Regions from separate parts of the Homo sapiens genome. Here all the other regions are linked to region 1. The links are contacts of gene promoters, found by promoter capture Hi-C in blood cells and fetal thymus (Javierre and others, 2016). All regions are on one chromosome and are shown on one strand. Each heading gives the region's core, a stretch centred on a gene start or on the middle of the fragment in contact. The rest is flanking DNA. Distances are from core to core; before and after follow the strand shown.

Region 1 (2,860 bases), core at 30-2,529:
GTGGGAACCAATAAGGTTGATATTGGCTTGAGAAATGGCTCCCATTCGGAGCTGATCGAATGCTCTAGTAAAAAAGGCAGCAAAAGCACCAGCAAAAGCAATGGTTCGACCACGTGTAGCACAGCCTAGTGCCACACTTACCATGTTTTGTTCAGCAATAATACACTCTATGAAACGCTCAGGGTGTTCTTTCCTGAATATCTCAGAAAAGGTGGAGTTCATCGTGTCACCACTCAGAACAATAACTCTTTCATTTGCACGGCCCAGTTTAGCCAGAGCCAAACCATATGTTTTCTGAGTAGCTATCTTGTCACCAACTTTGTAAGCAGGTGGGGAGGTCATTTTTATATCTGTGATGCTTATTTGAGGTGAGTCTTCCACAGGCGATTTTGGTATGAGATTCTCATTGGTCTGTATCTGACTCTCAATTAATTTGACAATTGCATCTGCTCTTTCTTTTGGCACTGGCTTTCCATGCCAATTTTCTGCATCCTCAATATTTGGAATACCCCGACCTTTGAAGGTCTTGGCAACTATAGCAGTAGGCTTGTTCTTCACTTGACTTGCTTGCCAAAATGCTTGGCACAAGGCCTCCACATCATGGCCATCCACTAAGTAAGTATTCCATCCAAAGGCTTCACAGCAATTCTGGTAGATGTCTGCGCCATGCTCAAGGGGTGCAGGGCCACTTTGTCCCAAGCGGTTCACGTCGAAGACCGCCACGAGATTGTCCAAGTTGTAGTGGGAGGCAAAAGCAAAAGCCTCCCACACAGAGCCTTCTGAGGATTCGCCATCTCCCATAAGGCAGAACACCCGGTAGCTGGCCTTGTCAAGGTACTTGCCAGTATAAGCCATTCCACATGCAGTACCTAATCCCTGACCTAGGGACCCTGTTGCCACGTCAACAAACGGCAATCGGGGGGTAGGGTGTCTCTCCAAGTCGCTGTGAAGTTTCCTCAGGTTCAGCAAGTCAGATTCACTGATGTCACCCACCTCCACCCAAGCAGCATAGAGGATAGGAGCAGCATGTCCCCTGGAGAGGATGAACCGGTCGTTGTCCGGGTGTTCTGGGTCTGTCTGTTTATACTTCATCGTGTGGAAGAAGAGGACAGACACGACCTCCGCTGCACTGCAGCACGACGTGAGCTGGCCAGAACCAGAGGCACACGTGGCCCTGATGGAATGGATCCGCAGGCGGTTGGCTGTGTCCCGCAGCACCTGCACGGTCTTCACGTCGGGCTTGGCGTCGTTGGCCATCATCTCTCTTTTGTCGGTTTGGCAAAGCAAACGGCGCCGCAGCACCCCCACAACCCACCGCGGCAGTGCTCTCACGTGACCGCCCCGCCCTCGCCTCCCCTCTGCCTGAAGGCCTGAGCTCAGCCACCAGCCGGGGCGCCCACAACGGAGCTTCCCGCGAGACTGAGGAAACGGAAACGTTGGAGTAGCCTGCACCCTCTGATGTGCACCGTTCCCTCTCCCTGTCCACGCCCAGCTGAATGGATTTTTAGTATTTACTTTGTCACGTGCATGTTCAACATTAGGAAGCATAATTAAATTTTTTACCTTTCCCTGTGTTATAAATTCAAGACTAGACATTTTTCTGTGTATTATAGGAAGCGATTTGTCAGGCTGTGCTTTTTTAATGCATTAACACTATATCCGAGTCATCACTCTTTCATATCAGAACATTAATAGAAAGGATACAAAGTCACTTTCAATCTGACCAGTATGGCAATGCTATCTCAACAGAGACTTTCTCAGAGCAACCAAATATCTGAATCTCAGACTTATAGAAAGAAATGCAATGACTAATTTGACCAAAATTTATAGGAAGAACAAATCTGAAACCACCCAATTGCAGAATAGAATTGCAACTCCAGTGTGCCGTAAAGTACTATTTCTGTGTTGAAATAATTAGAAGGCCAGTAGGCTGAGGTAGCTTCAGCTCCATGAGTTCCTACCTAAGGAAAGGAAACCCAAATCAGTGTAAATGATAAAAAGGAAATTTAAGCTTAATCAATCAGAAACTGCCAGCTAACTTCTAACTGGGGACTTTCCACTGGGATGACCCAAATAAGTCTAGTACTCCACTTTAACCAATCAAATATCTTTCCTTTGCTTCCAAATTCACCCTATAAAAGCCTTCTCCTTGGCTCCTTTATCAGGAGCTACCAGATTCATGAATCACTGAATGGTCAAATAAATGCTTTAATATTTTAATGTGCCTCAGTTTATCTTTTAATGACTATTACTACAAATCATTTTTAAGACAAAGTTACTTACTTTAAAAAACTAAATTTGTGGGCCGGGTGCTGTGGCTCACACCTGTAATCCCAGCACTTTGGGAGGCCGAGGCAGGCGGATCACAAGGTCAGGAGTTCGAGACCATCCTGGCTAACACGGTGAAACCCCGTGTCTACTAAAAATACAAAAAAATTAGCTGGGCGTGGTGATGGGCACCTGTAGTCCCAGCTACTCGGGAGGCTGAGGCAGGAGAATGGCGTGAACCTGGGAGGTGGAGCTTGCAGTGAGCCCAGATTGTGCCACTGCACTCCAGCCTGGGAGACAGAGCGAGACTCCGTCTAAAACAAAAAAAACTAAATTTGTGCCATTGAACTCTTCTAGCAGGCCAAGGTTATGGTTTGTCATCAATAAAACAACAATTAAAAAAAACACAATGATAATATATCATACCTTCCCATATTGCGATGTTAAACCTCTTGGTTTCTTGAGCAATAATTCTTACCTTAACTTCACGTTAAAATTAGGGCACATAAGAAACACAATGCCTGGTTCCATCCCAGAAAAATAGAATTTGAATTTCTGGACCTGGAGTCTGGGAAGCTATGTTTCTAAAATA
Region 2 (2,818 bases), core at 261-2,760, 970 kb before region 1:
CTGGTTTTCCTGGGTTTGGCTTGAATCATCGCCTCTCTGTGAACCAACTCCTGCAATCCTAAGTATCTCCACTGGATCACATAACTAGGTTTAGAATTAGGAGGTGAAACCAAAGCGATCTAAATCACACTGCCTGAAAGTGAGAAATAGTTGGTTCTTCACATGAAAATAAGCACTTGCACTCCCCAGTAGAAGAGGAAAGCATTGTCGATCCGGTAAAAAGAACTGTGGATAAGAGGCAATTCTCAAATTGGAAATCTAATTTATATATTTGCCCAGGCATGAGGGAAGGGAGAGTGGATTGCAATCTCTTGCATATGTATGATTTTATATTTTGACCATGTGGTTAGACAATCATCTGCTAGGAGTGATTCTTAAATAACGACAACACGAACATAATTGTCATCATAATGCCACATCATATCCACAGGCCTTGGAACAAAGAAGAGTTATTGGCTATATTTGAAAGAATAATGCTTAGATTGTCTACCCAAGGTATTGCATTTATAAATGATGTGTATTTTACACCATGATGTGGGAGGCGGGTAGAAAACTTAAACACTATGACTGAACATTTAAGGAGTGGAGAGTTATGTTCCTCTTCCTTGAGGGCAGAGTATCTACTTATTTGAAATTCTTCTGCATGGGAGAATCACCTATTCTCTTCATTTATTTATTTATTCAATCATTTATTTATGTAAGTATTGGCTCATGAATATTTATTTTATATTTAGATGTATAATCCAGTACTACTTTATTTTTATATTTTTGCTCAAATTGTCCCAGCTTTGGCCATTAGAGGCTCTTTTAATTGCATCCTGTGTCACTTTGACATACTCTCATCATTGTGTGTGTGTGTGTGTGTGTGTGTGTGTGTATGTGTGTGTGTATGTGCATGTGTGTTTGTGTGCTTTGGGCACCTATCTTTTGATGCTACAAGGTGTTCCAGTGAAGGAGTAAAATTACTGGAGAATGGTATGAAAAACCAAGATCTGGACACTAGGTGTGCTCGTTGCTACTGGGGTGTCATTGTTTCCAGAGATGCTCAATTAATAGAGCAGGAAATACAGATATATACTATCCTATGACTACATATATATAGTAAATATTTCTACATATGGCCATTGTATCTATATTAAACTAAATATGAGGTCATTTTGATGTCTTCAACTCTAATCCTTCATCAGAAATCATATGACTATCAGTGTGTGAATCTCTTTCTGGTCCATCTAGTTTGTTCCACAGATCTCTCTGTCTATTCTATGTCAATAACACATTGCCTTGTTTACTGTCTCTCTATAAAAAGAGGCATTAAAAATGTTCCAACTGTGCTCTTCTTCTTGATTGTGTTGGTTATTCTAAGGCTTTTGACTTTCCATGAAAAATTTAGGATCAGTTTGTCAATATCTACCAAATACCTTCCTTGGATTTTGATTAGAATTTTCTTGAATCTATAGATCAATTGGGACAAATTGACATCTTAACAATATTGAGTCTTCCAATTTGTGACCACAAAATATCTTTTCATTTATTTAGAGCTTCTTTTTTTCTTTCATTACATTTCTTTAGTTTTCCACTTACCAACATTATGTATTTTCTTAGATTTGTGGTGAAGTATTTCATATTTTAGTGATATTGCCAATCTTATATTATTTAAATTTTAAATTTCACTTGCTTATTGCTGGTATACAGAAAAGCAATAGACTTTTGCATAGTAATTGTGCATCGTTTAACCTTGCAATAACTTGCTTATTAGTTTTCCGTACATAATGTTGAAGATAGCAGTTACAGGATTTGCTGATGGATTGATTGTTTTAAGACAAAGAAAATTCAAAGATTTTGACTTGGATAAATGAGGTGGTGCTTATTATAATGGAAAAGAAAACCAGAATGGGAGGCTTAGGAAGTATAATTTCAGAAATCCAATATTGAGATACCAAATATTCAACTGGAAATGTCAAGAAGCCTGGAGTTTATGAAAGAAATCTGGTTTAGAGACAGACATTTGTATTGATTGGCATGTGTGTATACATATATATATTTTGAAAAAGTATACATATTCTATATATATGTATATATAGTATAGTCTATACTTATAAATTATATCCCATAGTTTAATATATATATGTGCTATATTACATACACAGAAAGAGTACTATACTATATATAGTAGTACTATACTGTATATATATATAAGCATATATATGTATGTATACAGAGATTGAATGAGAAAACTTAAGTAATAAGATAAGTTAGAAAACACCTATGTCATGGATTGAGGTCTGAAATGTGTAAAAGTTTAAACGACTAGAAGAGGAGCAGAAATCATCAGAGAAGCTGAGAATGAGTTTCCAAATATGCAGATCCAGAATTAAAAAAGAGAAAAACCTCTAAAATCAAGTGAAAAGAGGGCTTCAATAAAAGGTAGTGACCAACTACATCTAATACAGCTGATAAAACATTTATGCTCAGAGAAATTACCATTGAATTTGTCAACATTGGTTACCTTAACAAGAGCTATTTTACTGGAGCAACGGGGTGGAGGGGGAAGACTGAAGAACCTTCAAGAAAAAGATTAAAAGGTACAAAAAGGATGCAGTTTGCACTGACAACTCATTAAGAAAATTTTGTTATAAAGAGAAGCAGAGGCCGGGCGCGGTGGCTCACACCTGTAATCCCAGCACTTTGGGAGGCCGAGACGGGTGGATCACGAGGTCAGGAGTTCAAGACCAGCTTGGCCAAGATGGTGAAACCACGTCTCTACTAAAAATACAAAAAAAAAAAAATTAGCCGGGCGTGGTGGCACGCACCTGTAATC
Region 3 (2,700 bases), core at 199-2,698, 990 kb before region 1:
TAAAATATTTTGGATAAACTGATTCTTAACATTTACTTTTTTTGCCTGAAATTCAAATTTAACTGAGCAACCTGCATTGCCATTGCTATATTTGGCAAACTGTCTCTTTTCCTTATCCCTGAAAATGGCTTTAAAACCCAGCTTACAACTCACTCACTCTCAAAGAGGTCTCACTTATGTATAACTTAAACTCCTAATGTATACCAAAAACACAGCAGGATAGTTTTACTGAATAAATCTGAATATGTTTATATAGATATATTTTTTTGTAAAAAAAAACAAGATTTTGAATATACAGCCTTATAAATTTGATAAGGAATAATGCAGTGTCTCATATAACATCTTATAAAATAGGCTTTAATTTTAAACAGTTTTTAAAATAACCACATTTACTTTTTAATTAAGGTAGAAACATAATGTTTGTTATGTTTTGTACCAGAGCTGAACACAGTCAAATCTAAAGGCAATTTTCCTTGGTAAGACAATTATTACTTTTCGCCAACTGACATATTTTAATATATGTATACCTGATGTCTTACACGTTATGTTTTCACAAGTATTTATTCTCATTCATAAGCAGAAAATGGCCATGAACTCTATAAGACATTGTCTAATAGCTAATGCAATGAGAACAGAGTAGCACCACAAATATCGATATTGGCAAGATATTACTATTCTATAATTCTTTTAGAGTAATCAATGATGTTTAGGTTGCTTACATTTTAATTGGATAATATTTTTCTATCATAGCAGAAAATGTTAAAGGTGCAACTATTTCTTTAAAAGTAAGGCCTAGCCAGTTATCCCTGAAGCTTGAGTTTTTAATAAGCTTATTTTCCCTTATGCACACTATACCATCAACATATTTACACACAGATAAAAGAAAATGTAGGCTGGGCCTGGTGGCTTACGCTTGTAATCCTAGCACTTTCGGAGGCCAAGGCCGGCAGATCTCTTGAAGTTGGGAGTTTGAGACCAGGCTGGCCAACATGGTGAAACCCATCTCTACTAAAAATACAAAAATTAGTTGGGCATGGTGGCGCACACTTGTAATCCCAGCTACTTGGGAGGTTGAGGCCCTAGAATCTCTGAAACCCAGAAGGCAGAGGTTGCAGTGAGCCGAGATGGTGCCACTGCACTCCAGCCTGGGCGACAGACCAAGGCTGCCTCTCAAAAAAAAAGAAAGAAAAAGAGAGAGAGAGAGGAAGACTTATATTAAGCCAAAAAAAAAAAAAAAAAAAAAAAAACTAAGAAAAATCCAAGTCTTTTAAATGTTGACTTTTAATTTTTATTTTATTTTTTTATTTTTTGAGATGGAGTCTCACTCTGTTGCTCAGGCTGGAGTGCAGTGGCACAATCTCGGCTCACTGCAACCTCTGCCTCCCAGGTTCAAGCGATTCTCCTGCCTCAGCCTCCCCGGTAGCTGGGACTTGGCACGTGCCACCATGCATGGCTAATTTTTTGTATTTTTAGTAGAGACGGGGTCTCACTGTATTAGCCAGGATGGTCTCGGTCTCCTGACCTCGTGATCCACCCGCCTCAGACTCCCAAAATGTTGGGATTACAGGCGTGAGCCACTGCGCCTGGCCCTCAAGTTCGTTTTTAATTCTGCTTTCCAAACACTTTTTCCGAAAGAGAAAAGCTACGAGCTGAGTAATGTTACAAAAAGTTGTTACATGACGTTGGCTGTGAAATAAAGTATCTTGATTGTATCCAGATAACAATGCTAAGTTTAGGAGGAAAAAAACCCAGCAAAATAAATTCTGCTAAAATGTTTCTGAGTTTGATTTTCCACCTACTGTTGAATAGAGAATATTATTATTTTTTTTAAGTTCGCAGTTTTTGGGGAAGATTGCTCTAATGCTCAAAAGGAATTCCAGAATAAGATATATAACTACTTGTTCTTCCATGGGATAAATGATACTGTCAAATTATGAAGAAATCACCACTCAATATTTGAAAGAAAAAACATGTTGTGCTTATTGCTTACTATAGTGAATAGAGATATGCTGGTCAGGTATAGCCTCTCTAAAAAGAGCAAGCTGCTGGATTTATACCAGAATTTTTGGAAGCTTAAAAGTCAGGGATTGGTGACCTTTCAGAAGTTTAAGTAGGTTGACATTCGCTGCCAAAATGTGATTACTCCAACAAAATTGTTCTCAATTGGTTGACACTCAGAATTGTGTTTATGGGAGTGAGTCCATATAAATTGCTTGGCTTTCTGAAATGAAAGCTGTTAATGATTGGTTTTCCTGCAAAAAAAGAAAAAAAAGTCATCATCAATCAATTGGATGGGTTAAAATTCAATTCAAGTGATTACTTGATAAATGTGCCATAGCCTTTTTTAAGAGCCTGTTTTATTATTAATAATAATTATTATTATTCCCAGTATCCCCTTTGGTTTTCATGTAGCCAAAGCTGCAGGAGAGACTATCGGGGACTGCCCATATTCTTGAAACGACATTTCATTTACTGATATCTAATTTTCAAGTTGAGTATGAATCAGTGTGATTGCATCATGGTTTTGCCTTTGAATCAGTTTTTGGGTCATTTGTTAAGACAATGTCTATCTAGAAAACATTTACGACTTTGGACAAGTATGAAATAATTCTAAGGAAAACAAGCCTAACTACAAGCATTATAAGGAGAGAAGACAAGACATTTTGGAACAATGACCTAAGACTTTCCTTGCCTAACAGA
Region 4 (2,758 bases), core at 205-2,704, 960 kb before region 1:
TAAACTGAAATTGCAGGAGCTAGTTATGCTTCAGGTAAATGTGACATCTTCCAAGGTATGCACAAGGTACACACCTGGCTTCATGCCTGTGGTGTGTGTGATTATATGGGTGAGTAGAAATAAAGCTATTAAAACATAGTTGAGTAAGCTATGTTTGCTTTAGTGAAAATATTTAATTTAATTTAAATTTTCTATTCATTCTTTAGCTCTCTAAACCTCCCTGGAATACTGTCACCACAGCATTTGCTGTCCCTCTGCCTGGAATTCCCTGTCCCAAATATACACCTGGATTACTGCCTCACTCACCTTAGACTTTGACACAAATAGTTACTCTCAATGAGGTTTTCATGAGTATTCTAATTAAAAGTAAATTTTATTTCTCAACTCTCATCTTTTTTTTTCCTGCTTTAATTTTCTATATGACAATTCTTACCATATAACACCCTATGTGTCCTATTTTTTATTAGTCTTTCATTTAAAGTGTAAGCCTCCTAAAGACATCCTATGGGATATAAAAACATAAATTATTGTACTTAACTGCAGAATATCACTGGATATATTATCATACCTCTCAGCAAAATAATCCATGATCTCCCAGCTAGCCTTGCTGATGGGAATGTGCATGGGATGTACTAGCCAAATGGAATTCTCAAATTCTCATGAAATCTCTTTAGAACAGGACAGGATCGACTTTGCCTTTCATTTTCGACAACATCTTGCTCAGAGTACTGATTCAAGACTGGAATTGGAACAACCAACATGTAGACATTAATGATAAGCATGAGATTCAAGCCACATGCTAAGAGTGAGCAGAAAGATAGAGTCTGAATTCCTCACTGATGGCACTGGCACCAGACTTCATACCTCTAGACTCCCTCGCTTTGTGAGAAAAACAGCCCCACAAGTGATGAAGCCACTATTATTTGGGTATTCTATCAGGTAGTCGAATACAAACCCCAGTGGATGTAAATCTAAAAAACTCACAAAGCTCTACCCTCTTCCTGAATTCCAGTGATCCTCCGCCTGAGAATTGTGCTCTAGAATTGTAAACTGTGCTACAAACATTTAAGCAAAGGGTTTCCATGTAAAATAGACTTCAGGATGGGTTTTATGTTCTGATCAATATTTTTAACTGTGGAGGTTGTAGGGATGTTGTATAACGTGGTGGGAAAAATAAGAGACATGTATTAGAATTCCAAAATTTTACACAAGATTTGCTATAGAGTAGCCCCAAACTACAAGGATCTCATTCAATTGCCCTGGGCCTCAGTTTCCTCATCTGTAAAAGATAGTATTGGACTTAAAGTTCTCTGAAGTCTTATTTATTTCTAATACTATATGATTATTTCTGTGTTGTTTAATACCTTGTACTGTAGATTATTATTATATATAAAAACATGATTATTATAAAAGATTATTCTTCATTACATGGAGGACTCATTACATGAAGGGACTCAGCTCAAATAAGGGAGAGCAGAGCTGAAGGGTATGAGGAAGAGCAAGACCTGACTCACCAGTGCCACGGACAGCAAGGGCAGCATTGCTGTAACCATGCTACAAGTTGCTTTAATTAATTAATCTGGATGAGAGAGGCATACCTGGTAGGAATCTATTACTGAGACACAAAATAGTCCAGCCACTTCTGAGGGCTGCCTGTAATCCCAGCACTTTTGGAGGCCGAGGCGGGTGGATCACCTAAGGTCAGGAGTTCGAGACTAGCTTGACCAATGTGAAACCCCGTCTCTACTAAAAATACAAAAATTAACTGGGCATGGTGGCCAGCGTCTGCAGTCCCAGCTACTCGGGAGGCTCAGGCAGGAGAATTGCATGAACCTGAAAGGTGGAGGTCTCAGTGAGTCAAGATCATGCCACTGCGCTCAAGCCTGGATAACAGAACGAGACTCACTCTCAAAAAAAAAAAAAAAAAAAAAGGCAGGGAAGTAAGAATACTGACTGGGAGTATTTCTTCTTTCAAATTAAGCCATTATTATAAAAAACATCTGGCAGTGAAATAATGCTGTGCTAAGTTGAAATTTAGCAAAATAAACATAAAAAGGAGCTATTATAGGCTGCATTTTCCCATTATTCCAGGGGACATTAACTAAGATTAAAACATGGTTTAATAGATTATTAATTATAGATGAGTTAAACTTAAATTACCTGCTCTGTAGTGGAAGTGGATTAAATTTGCCGACTATAAGTACTTAAAAATCTTCATACATAGATATTCTAGTAGGTGTTTTATGACAGTGTCCACAACCTTTTAAAACAATCTTATCTTTTACACTTAAAAAAAAATAGTACACACTGGCCAGGTGTGGTGGCTCACGCCTGTAATCCTAGCACTTTGGGAGGCCGAGGCGGGCAGATCACGAGGTCAGGAGATCGAGACCATCCTGGCTAACATGGTGAAACCCCATCTCTAGTAAACATACAAAAAATTAGCTGGGCATGGTGGCAGGTGCCTGTAGTCCCAGCTACTCCGGAGGCTGAGGGAGGAGAATGGCGTGAACCCTGGAGGCGGAGCTTGCAGTGAGCGAAGATGGTGCCACTGCACTCCAGCCTGGGCGACAGAGTGAGGCTCCGTCTCAGAAAAAAAAAAAAAAAAAAAAAGTACACAACTACACCTATATATGATACATATGACATAAATTTTAGACCTTAATGCTATTGGTTAGGACAAGGGGATGGACCACTGTCATTTTTTAGCAGAAATTTGAAAATAGGCAACAACAAAAATGTAGTTGTCTAAAATCTT

The links. The method cuts DNA at HindIII sites, captures the fragments that hold promoters and counts their contacts. A CHiCAGO score of 5 or more calls a contact.
Region 2: a fragment that was not itself captured here is called in contact with the fragment with the promoter of TKTL2 in region 1 in 5 of 17 cell types (erythroblasts, megakaryocytes, M0 macrophages and 2 more); the score reaches 11.2 in erythroblasts.
Region 3: a fragment that was not itself captured here is called in contact with the fragment with the promoter of TKTL2 in region 1 in 1 of 17 cell types (endothelial precursors); the score reaches 6.3 in endothelial precursors.
Region 4: a fragment that was not itself captured here is called in contact with the fragment with the promoter of TKTL2 in region 1 in 1 of 17 cell types (M2 macrophages); the score reaches 5.1 in M2 macrophages.

The regions. Positions count from the first base shown.
Region 1 is chr4:163,472,475-163,475,334 of GRCh38, forward strand. TKTL2 (transketolase like 2) reads right to left here and starts at 1,280. Exons shown (of 1, transcript NM_032136.5): 1 at 1-1,280. The coding sequence starts at 1,260. The HindIII fragment of the contact is 3,282 bases long and covers 1-2,009 here.
Region 2 is chr4:162,501,036-162,503,853 of GRCh38, forward strand. No RefSeq gene overlaps it. Among named protein-coding and RNA genes, the nearest start is that of FSTL5, 340 kb to the left of the region's middle. The HindIII fragment of the contact is 6,861 bases long and covers 1-2,818 here.
Region 3 is chr4:162,482,569-162,485,268 of GRCh38, forward strand. No RefSeq gene overlaps it. Among named protein-coding and RNA genes, the nearest start is that of FSTL5, 320 kb to the left of the region's middle. The HindIII fragment of the contact is 1,243 bases long and covers 828-2,070 here.
Region 4 is chr4:162,517,226-162,519,983 of GRCh38, forward strand. No RefSeq gene overlaps it. Among named protein-coding and RNA genes, the nearest start is that of FSTL5, 350 kb to the left of the region's middle. The HindIII fragment of the contact is 3,127 bases long and covers 1-2,758 here.